2 separate regions of the Homo sapiens genome follow, and region 1 is linked to region 2. Evidence: promoter capture Hi-C in human tissues and cell types (Jung and others, 2019). All regions are on one chromosome and are shown on one strand. Each heading gives the region's core, a stretch centred on a gene start or on the middle of the fragment in contact. The rest is flanking DNA. Distances are from core to core; before and after follow the strand shown.

The links. The method cuts DNA at HindIII sites, captures the fragments that hold promoters and counts their contacts. A contact is called where the count stands out against the background at its distance.
Region 1: a contact is called between a fragment that was not itself captured here and the fragment with the promoter of ZBTB8B in region 2, in 1 of the 25 tissues and cell types used here (spleen).

The regions. Positions count from the first base shown.
Region 1 is chr1:31,117,566-31,122,145 of GRCh38, forward strand. No RefSeq gene overlaps it. Among named protein-coding and RNA genes, the nearest start is that of PUM1, 54 kb to the left of the region's middle. The HindIII fragment of the contact is 4,386 bases long and covers 385-4,580 here.
Region 2 is chr1:32,462,751-32,467,598 of GRCh38, forward strand. It overlaps ZBTB8B (zinc finger and BTB domain containing 8B), which reads left to right and starts at 2,322. Exons shown (of 4, transcript NM_001145720.2): 1 at 2,322-2,355. The HindIII fragment of the contact is 24,686 bases long and covers 1-4,848 here.

The DNA of each region.
Region 1 (4,580 bases), core at 1,328-3,827, 1.3 Mb before region 2:
GGAGAATCGCTTGAACCCAGGAGGCAGAGGTTGCAGTGAGCCGAGATCGTGCCACTGCACTCCAGCCTGGGTGACAGAGTGAGACTCTGTCTCAAAAAATATATATATATATTAAATATAATATAATATATATATTATATAATATATATATTATATATTATATATTATATATATTTATATATAATATATATAAATATGTATGTATGTATGTAGGTGAGCAAAAGTGAAAATAGTTAAGAGCCAAATTAAATAATCCAGGAGAGAGATGAGGTGGCTTGCACTAGGGTGGTGACTGTGGAGGTATAAGACATATTATAGATGCATACATATATTATACATATATACATAAACATACATCTATTGTATTTATATATTATATACATGTATTTTATATTATATATAACATGTATAACATACATTATATATGTATATACATATATAATGTATATTTTTATATGTATATACATATATAATGTATATTTTTATATGTATATAAAATATATGTATGCTTATGTATGTATATGTATGCATGTATATGTATGTTATAAAAAATGTATGTGTGCATAATATGTAAGTATAATACATAATATATATGTGTAATATGTATGTATCTATCTATACACACACACACACACACACACACACACACACACACACATACATGTATATCTGGTACCTCCACAGTCAACACCCTAGGGCAAGCCGCCCTCATCTCTCTCCCAATTATTTAATTTGGCTCTTAACCATTTTCACCATTGCCCACCTATAGTCTATTCTCCACTCAGCAGCCACAGTGACCTTCGAAAACTGTCCCTTCTGTGCTTAACCCCTAATCCACAAAGCACATCATCACATACTCACCTCCAGCCCTTCACTTCTGCCAAGAATATTCTTCCAGTGATTCACATGATTCAAATCACTGCTCAAATGTCACCTGATCAGAGCAAATGTATCTAAGATTGTCTTTCTGATCACTTCCTACCCCTAAGCCTGCTTTACTATCTTTTATGGCAGTTATCATCCCTTGATATATTTTATATTTATTTATTCATGATGATCTCTCCCCATGTATATTTATAACCTGAATGTGTCTAAGATATACATTGTCAAGGGAAAATAACAGGCTACATACAGCACATCTTCAGTAAGTCCTCTTCTACATCCATATTTGTATATAACTGAAAGGCAGCCTGAATGGATATGGGCAAGGAGTTCATGGTGGTATATGTGCTTGTGAATTTGGAGTGGTCATCTCTCATAATGCCTGCTTTGCCCGCCTTAATTTTGTTTACCTATATTTTCTATTTTTTTTCAAATTAATTTCGAATCTGAAAGGAAAGATAAGGGATAAATACATTCAGAAGGAGGGATAAGATCTACTAGGAATACCAGAGAGAATAGAAAGAGAAAAGGCATTGTAGGGCTTCACAGATAGTCGAACCACACAGACCTTCAAAGGGAAGGGGTTAGCATCTCCAGCTGATTATTCCTAGAATGCAAATTTTGGGTGGGTTCAGTGGCTCATGCCTGTAATCCCAGCACTTTGGGAGACTGAGGCGGACAGATTGCTTAAATCCAGTAGTTTAAGGCCAGCTTGGGCTGGGCAAGGTGGCTCACACCTGTAATCCGAGCACTTTGGGAGGCCAGGGCGGGCAGATCACCTGAGTTCAGGAGTTCCAGACCAGACTGGCCAACACGGCGAAACCCCTGTCTCTACTAAAAATACAAAAATTAACCGGGCATGGTGGCGGGCACCTGTAATCCCAGCTAATCGGGAGGCCGAGGCAGTAGAATCACTTGAACCCGGGAGGCGGAGGTTGCAGTGAGCCTAGATTGCACCACTGCACTCCAGCCTGGGCGATAGACAGAGCGAGACTCCATCTCAAAAAAAAAAAAAAAAAAAAAAAAGACCAGCTTAGCCAGCATGGTGAGATCCTGTCTCTACAAAAAATATAAAAATTAGCCAGAGGGCCAGGCGCAGTGCCTCACACCTGTAATCCCAGCATTTTGGGAGACTGAGTTGGGCAGATCACCTGAAGTCAAGAGTTCGAGACCAGCCTGGCCAACATGGTGAAACCCCATCTCTACTAAAAATACAAAAACATTTAGCTGGGTGTGGTGGTGCATGCAAATAGTCTCCACTACTTGGGAGACTGAGGCAGGAGAATTACTTGAACCTGGGAAGCGGAGGTTGAAGTGAGCCAAGATCACGCCACTGCACTCTAGCTTGGGTGACAGAGCATGACTCAGTCTCAAAAAAAAAAAAAATTAGCTGGGTATGGTGGCACATGCCTGTAGTTTCAGCTACTGGGGAGGCTGACATGGGAGGATCACTTGAGCCCCGGAAGTGGAGTTTGCAGTGATCAGAGATCACACCACTGTACTCCAGCCTGGGCAACAGAGTGAGATCCTGTCTGATAAAAAAAAAAGAAGGCAAATTTTTTTCCTTGCTCCTGTCTTCATAGACACCAGTTTAGAGAGGCAGCTTCTGTCAGTGTGCAAAGGATACTTTCACACACACACACACACACACACACACACACACACACACACACACACAGAGAGAGAGAGAGAGATTGGGAGCAAAGCAGCCCTGGACAGCTCAGCCTCCAAGTGACTTTCCGTGTCCTTCCAGGCTGAAAAACAACCAGTAACTTTTAAATAGCAGCTTCTCTTGCCAAACCAAAATTAAGATCTGTCTCTCCAGGCAGCTTTCTTCATTATTAATGGCTAAGAGACTATTAAAACCTGCCTGGTCCTGCCCTTCTCTAACTCCACCCTATAGCCTGGGAGAAGCAGAAAGCTGGGGCCAGACACGCTATTAGGACCCTCACTCCATGTGCCTTGGCTGTTCTTCTTTTCATTGCAGAAAACCAACCTGAAACTCCAGAGTAGGAGCACCATGCTCACAGTTGCATGCCCGGTGGGCTCCCAAACTCAGATCAGACCCTAGGCTCCTGTGCCATTTCACTCAACCATGTAGGAAGGCTTATCAGATTGTGGATGATTCCACTCAGAAAACCATAGTCAGCATGGTGCGTATCCCCAGTGGCGTGCTGGTACGTGTTTAACAACCAGCTCTCTGGGGTACAAAGGCAGCCCTGGTTTGTAGCATGTGTCAATTTCCTTGGTGTGAAGTCTTTCACTGTGGCCGATTTCAAGCTACCAACTTGACATCAACCTGAAAATTAAGCAGTCAGCGCTCAGGAGCTGAGGTGCGCAGACTCCAGCACATTACGGTCAACTCAAGGCCCTTCCCAAGGACGTACAGACCCAGGGTTCTGACACCTTCTAGATCAAGTCTTGCCTGTGTCCCACCTGCACAGGACCCTGGTATTTCAAAGACTGTCACTCATAAGGGTTTTTATTGAGGCAGTGTGGACAGGGTGGGGGCAGGAACTGGGGAATTGCACAGGCTTGGTTCCTAATAATAGCCCCACCATATAAGGCCCATGCTGCCTAGCTAAGCAGCTCCACCTTTCTGGGTCTCAGCTGCCTCATCTGTAAAACTGGGATAATGATACCTGAGAAAGTTGTTGTGAGAAATAAATGAGATAATATTCACAAAGTACTTGACAGTCAGTCAATATGGCTTCCTTCTGTGTATTACCATGAACAATTGCTTACAATATAAAACAAAGATTAAAAATCATAATGCGGGCTGGGCACAGTGGCTCATGCCTGTAATCCCAGCAATTTGGGAGGCCGAGGCGGGCAGATCACTTGAGGTCAGGAGTTTGACACTAGCCTGGCCAAGGTGGTGAAACCCTGTCACTACTAAAAATACAAAAAAAAAAAAAATTAGCTAGGCATGGGGGCAGGCACCTGTAATCCCAGATACTCGGGGAGGCTGAGACAGGAGAATTGCTTGAACCTGGGAGGCGGAGGTTGCAGTGAGCTGAGATCATGCCACTGCACTCCAGCCTGGGCAACTGAGCAGAACTCTGTCTCAAAAAAAAAAAAAAAAATCATAATGTGGCCAGGTACAATAGCTCATGCCTGTAATCTCAGCACTTTGGGAGGCTAAGGTGGCTGGATTGTTGGAGGTCAGGAGTTCGAGACCAGCCTGGGCAACAAGGTGAAAGCTTGTCTCTACTAAAATACAAAAACTGGCCAGGCGTGATGGTGCATGCCTGTACTCCCAGCTACTCGGGAGGCTGAGGCACAAGAATTAATTGCTTGAACCTGGGAGATGGAGGTTCCAGTGAACTGAGATCATGCCAGTGCACTCCAGCCTGCTGGACAGAGTGAGACTCCGTCTCAAAAGAAATAAAAATAAAAATAAACTAACCAAAAAAAAACAGAAAAAATTCAGGACACCAAACTCTTCCTGTGGCTTATTGTACTGGGATGGGGGTGTGGGAGATGAACAGAGAAGGGCAGGGAGTGACTTCCCAGGGCAGTGGAGGTGTTTTTATCTTGAGAACGGTGTGGGTTACAGAAGTGTATGCTTCTGTCAAGACTCAACCAACTCCACTTAAAATCTAAGGATTTCATTCTAAGAAAATTATACCCCTGTTAAAAGATGTTAAAAAGTGGAGGAGCATGATTATAGATGACAAGTAAGTGTGCAAGTGAGT
Region 2 (4,848 bases), core at 1,072-3,571:
TCAGCATCTATCAGCAGGGGAGAGATCATATCTTATCTCTTCCCTGCTTAAGATCCTTCGAAGGTGTCCCTTCACATTCATAAGAAAAAATCCAAACTCCTTAAGGTGGCCTACAAATTCCTACATAATCTGGCCTTTGCTTCTCTATCCATTCATATTTCCTGTCGCTTGGACTGGCTACATAATTTGTGGGGCCCAATGCAAAATGAAAATGCAGAGCTCCTTGTTCAAAAACTACTAAGAATTTTAAGAGGGCAATGGCAGAGCATTAAACCAGGCATCAGCCCTTTCCTTTTTTTTAATTTTTAAAATATTTATTTAGATTTTCTTTTTGTTAGTAATTAAATCTTTCTTCTTCTTCTTCTTCTCCTCCTCCTCCTTCTCCTTCCTCTCCTTCCTCTTCCTCTTCTTCTTCTTCCCTCTTCCCTCTCTCCTCCTCCTCGTCCTCCTCCTCCTTGAAACAGTGCAGTGGCACAATCTCAGCTCACTGCAACCTCCACTTTCCATGTTCAAGTGATTCTCATGCCTCAGCCTCCCGAGTAGCTGGGATTACAGGTATGTGTCACCATGCCCAGCTAATTTTTGTATTTTTAGTAGACACTGGGTTTTGCCATGTTGGCCAGGCTGGTCTCAAGTGATCCGCCCGCCTCAGCCTCCCAAAGTGCTGGGATTACAGGTGTAAGCCACCGCACCTGGCTCTTTTTTTGTTTTGTTTTGTTAAGTATAAAACCTCACCTGGAAGCACCAGCCCTTTCTGAGTGTGCGGGCCTGTGCCACTGCGTGGGTTGCACGTCCATTAAGCTGGTCTACCTGCCATCCACTTCCTCAACCCAATGGCATTCTCCTGTTTCTTAGATATGTACCAACCGGTTTTCTGTTTTATCTTAGCATGGCTCACTACTCCTCATTAGGGTCTCTCAGCGAAGGGGGTAGCCTTTTTTTTTTTTTTTTTTTTTTTTGAGACAGAGTCTTGCTCTGCTGCCCAGGCTGGAGTGCAGTGGCCAGATCTCCACTCACTGCAATCTCTTTGGTTCAAGCATTCTCCTGCCTCAGCCTCCCAAGTAGCTGGGATTACTGGCCCACGCCCGGCTAATTTTTGTATTTTTAGTAGAGATGGGGTTTCACCATGTTGGCCAGGCTGGTCTCGGACTCCTGACCTCAGGTGATCCACCCGCCACCACTCCAGCCTGGGCAACAGAGTCTGAGACTCCGTCTCAAAAAAAAAAAAAAAAAAAAAAAAAAAGTCATACTGGCATAGAGTGAACCCCTAATCCAATATGACTGGTATCCTTATAAAAATACTTTTTTTTTGGAGACGGAGTCTCTCTCTGTCGCCCCAGGCTGGAGTGCAGTGGCGCGATCTCGACTCACTGCAACCAAAAGGAGACATTTTGACATGGAGACATATACAGGGAATATGCCCTGTGAACATGAAGATGGCCATATGCAAGCCCAGGAGAGAAGCCTGGAAGAGACCGTTTCCTCACAGCGCTCAGAAGGAAAGAACCCTGCCAACATCTTGCTTTCAGATGCCCCCAGGATTGTCAGACAATAAGATCTGTTATTGACGCCACCGGGTTGGTGATACTTAGGTACAGCAGCCCTAGCAAACGAATACACCCCCATGAGAACTAAGCTCCCTGAGAGCGGTAAGCTGCCTTGTCTTGCTCACAGCTGACAAGAACACGCCTGTACGGTCACTTAGCACCTAGTACTGCCATTTAACCGTTTCACTAGTATGTATGAACCGGAGAGCCTGTCAAGGGAAGAGCTGAATCTTTTATCTTTTGTAACGACTACCCAGTGAAAGAAACCGCGGGTATGCAATAAAAACCTGTTGAATCGATTAAACCATTTCCCTTATTTCCAGATTTTTGCGGAAAGCGCCAGTAGGTGAAATATGTGCGGACTGATGAGTCAAAGCTCTTATTCCCTGGACTGCATTAATACCCACGACGTGCTTTTCGCTCTCCAGACAAAGAGACCGGTACTTGGCAGGTCCCTCAAGTGGGACTCAAAAGACCGAACCGAGCTGCAGCCTTTCGCTAGCACTGGTCCTCGCCCCTTTTGGCATCTTGGTACTTGTAGTTTTGTCCACTCTATCTTTACCCGAAAAGCCAGCGCTGAGACCACAACTCCCATCACCCTGCGAGCACCAGCGCCTTCAGAGCGCATCCTCCGAGGGGCACCAGCGCCATTGACCACCCTGCTGGCCGAAGGGCCCGCCTTCCCGAGGCCAGGCGCTCCCGCGATTGGCCAGCCGCCCCGCCTCTCATCGGAGGGCGCCAGGTGAATGAAAGGGGGGCGTGTCGGTGCGCGGTGCTCCGTGGCTGCGCTGCTGGAACCCGCTGGAAGGTGAGCGCGAAGAAGCGGGTTGGCGCTGCCGCTTTCGTTGGTTTGGGGAGGATTCCTAGCACCCGGGAGGCTGGCTGGAGATTGGGGTTAGCGGGCAGGGTTGCCCCCACTCAGTCATCCTCCTTCGGACCGCTTGGCCCTGGCAACTCCTGGGACCTCCGCCCCGCGAGCCCTTCTAGCGTGGGGAGGGGCAGGCGCGGCCGTGGGGCCCCAGCTTCCCTGTCATTGGGTGTCCTCCGCGTCGTCCAGCCGGGGGTCGCGGCGCCGACTACTTCCACGGTGAATGGTGCCCAGGCGTGGGGGGCTCGGCCACACTGGAGAAGTGCCAGCGGCAGCGATGGCCACTTTGTCCGCGGGAGGCCATGGGAGGGGCTAGGCCTTGGGGTCCCACCCTCGGGGGCCGTGCCCTGTAGCTGGTTCTGGTGGCCTCTCTGCAGGTCGTCTGATGCTGGACGGGGGAGGGTCTGTCTTGCGAGCAGTTTAGATGCAGTTGACCCTGAAATTCTTCGTATGGAAATGGAAACTTCTCCAGTGTCCTTCTCCTCCGATCCATGCCTAAAAGAAAGGAGTGACTTCCCCAACCTGTCGCATCGTGTCCTGGAGGGTTTGAGGAGGCCGGTTAGCATAGTGGTTAAGGATGTCAACCCGGGAGTCAGTCGGATCTCTGTTCTATTACTAACTTGGTGATGTTATCTGCATCTTTGAATCTCAGTTCCTCCTCTGAAAAAGAGGATGTAGTTAGAGTATCTGTCGTACTGGATTATTGTGAGGTGAAAACTAATGTGCTTGTAAAAGCCAGGCATGGTGGCGCGCACCTGTAGTCCCTGCTACTCGGGAAGCTAAGGTTGGGAGGATCTCTTGAGCCCAGGAGTTCCAGGCTGCATTGAGGTAGGATCGTGCACTCCAACCTGGGCAACCGAGCAAGACCGTGCCTTTTAAAAATTTTAATTTAAAAAGTAAAATGAATATGCTTGTACTTTGTACAGTGTTTTATAAGGAATAGTGCTTAATATTTACTAAAATTGAGGAGCAGGTTTTTGTTATTCTCAGGTTGGTGGGACTGGAGGAGTCTTGTCAGAAAGGGTCGGAGGTGGAATTCAAGGCTGCTTTTGGCCTCTGAACAGAGACAGTTGTGTGATCTGGCTAGGACTCCCTCAAGGGTATATGAGAGTTTGTATTGCAGGTAGTTGTGTTGGCATCTGCTGTCTCCTGGAGGACAGGCACTATACTTGGTTCATTTTTCTATTCCTGGCATCTTCCTTGTGTCAGGCATTGTATGTAGCCGGTAACCGTTGAATTGAGTTGGAACCGTGGGATGGTTGGGAGGTTCCCTGCCAGAGTGCGGATAAATGTGCTTCTGAGAGCAGTCTGCCCTAAGAGCTGCTCTTCTGGGATAAGTGGTGATCCTCAGCACTTCCCGGGGCAGCAGAGCACTTCAGGCAAATGGGGGTGATATAAATAAATATTTACACAATATATACCAAGTACAGGATTGGGGAAAATTTTGAAGAAAATACTATACGGATAGACTTTTGCAACGTCAGGAAGTAGAATAAAAATAATTGCAATAGAATAAAAAATAATTTCAGTAAGAAAGCCAAAAGAAATTGGTTTTAGGTGCTATTTCTGGAAAGGAGGCTTTTCCAGTGAAAGACGGAAGTGCCCTGGGAAGAGCCCCTATAGATCAGACCATACTACAAGTTAAGAAGTGTTGTGCGTACTTACATATTTATCTACCTGGCTTACCAACTCCTTACCCCTCTGCCCTGCCTCCTTTTTTTCTTAGTTAACAAAGAAAAAAGCCAAGGCAGAAGGATCACTTGAGTCCAGGAGTTCAAGACCATTGAGACCAGCCAGGGCAACATAGTGAGACCCCATCTCTACAAAAAAATGTTTTCAGAATTAGCTGAGTGTGGTGCTGCATGCCTGTAGTCACAGCTACTTGGGAGGCTGAGGTAGGAGGATTGCTTGAGCCTGGGAGGTCGAGGCGGCAGTGAACTGTGATCATGGACTGCACTCCAGCCTGGGTAACAAAGTAAGACCCCGTCTCAAAAGAAAAGAAAAGCAATACATGCACATAGTAAAACATTCTATCAGAAAGGTTTAAAATGAAAGGCGAAAGTCCCTCCACACACTTGTTTTTTTTTTTTTTTTTGAGATGGAGTCTCGCACTATCGCCCAGGCTGGAGTGCAGTGGCACAATCTCTGCTCACTGCAGCCTCCGCCTCCACCGCCTCCTGGGTTCAAGTGATTCTCCTGCCTCAGCCTCCCGAGTAGCTGGGATTACAGGTGCCCGCCACCATGCCCAGCTAATTTTTTTGTATTTTTAGTAGAGACGGGGTTTCACTACGTTGGCCAGGCTGGTCTCGAACTCCTGACCCCAGGTGATCTACCCACCTTGGCCTCCCAAAGTGCTGGGATTACAAGTGTGAGCCACCACACCCGGCCCCAAGTGGATTTTAAACTTGGTTTATAGTTTATCTACTAAGCAGT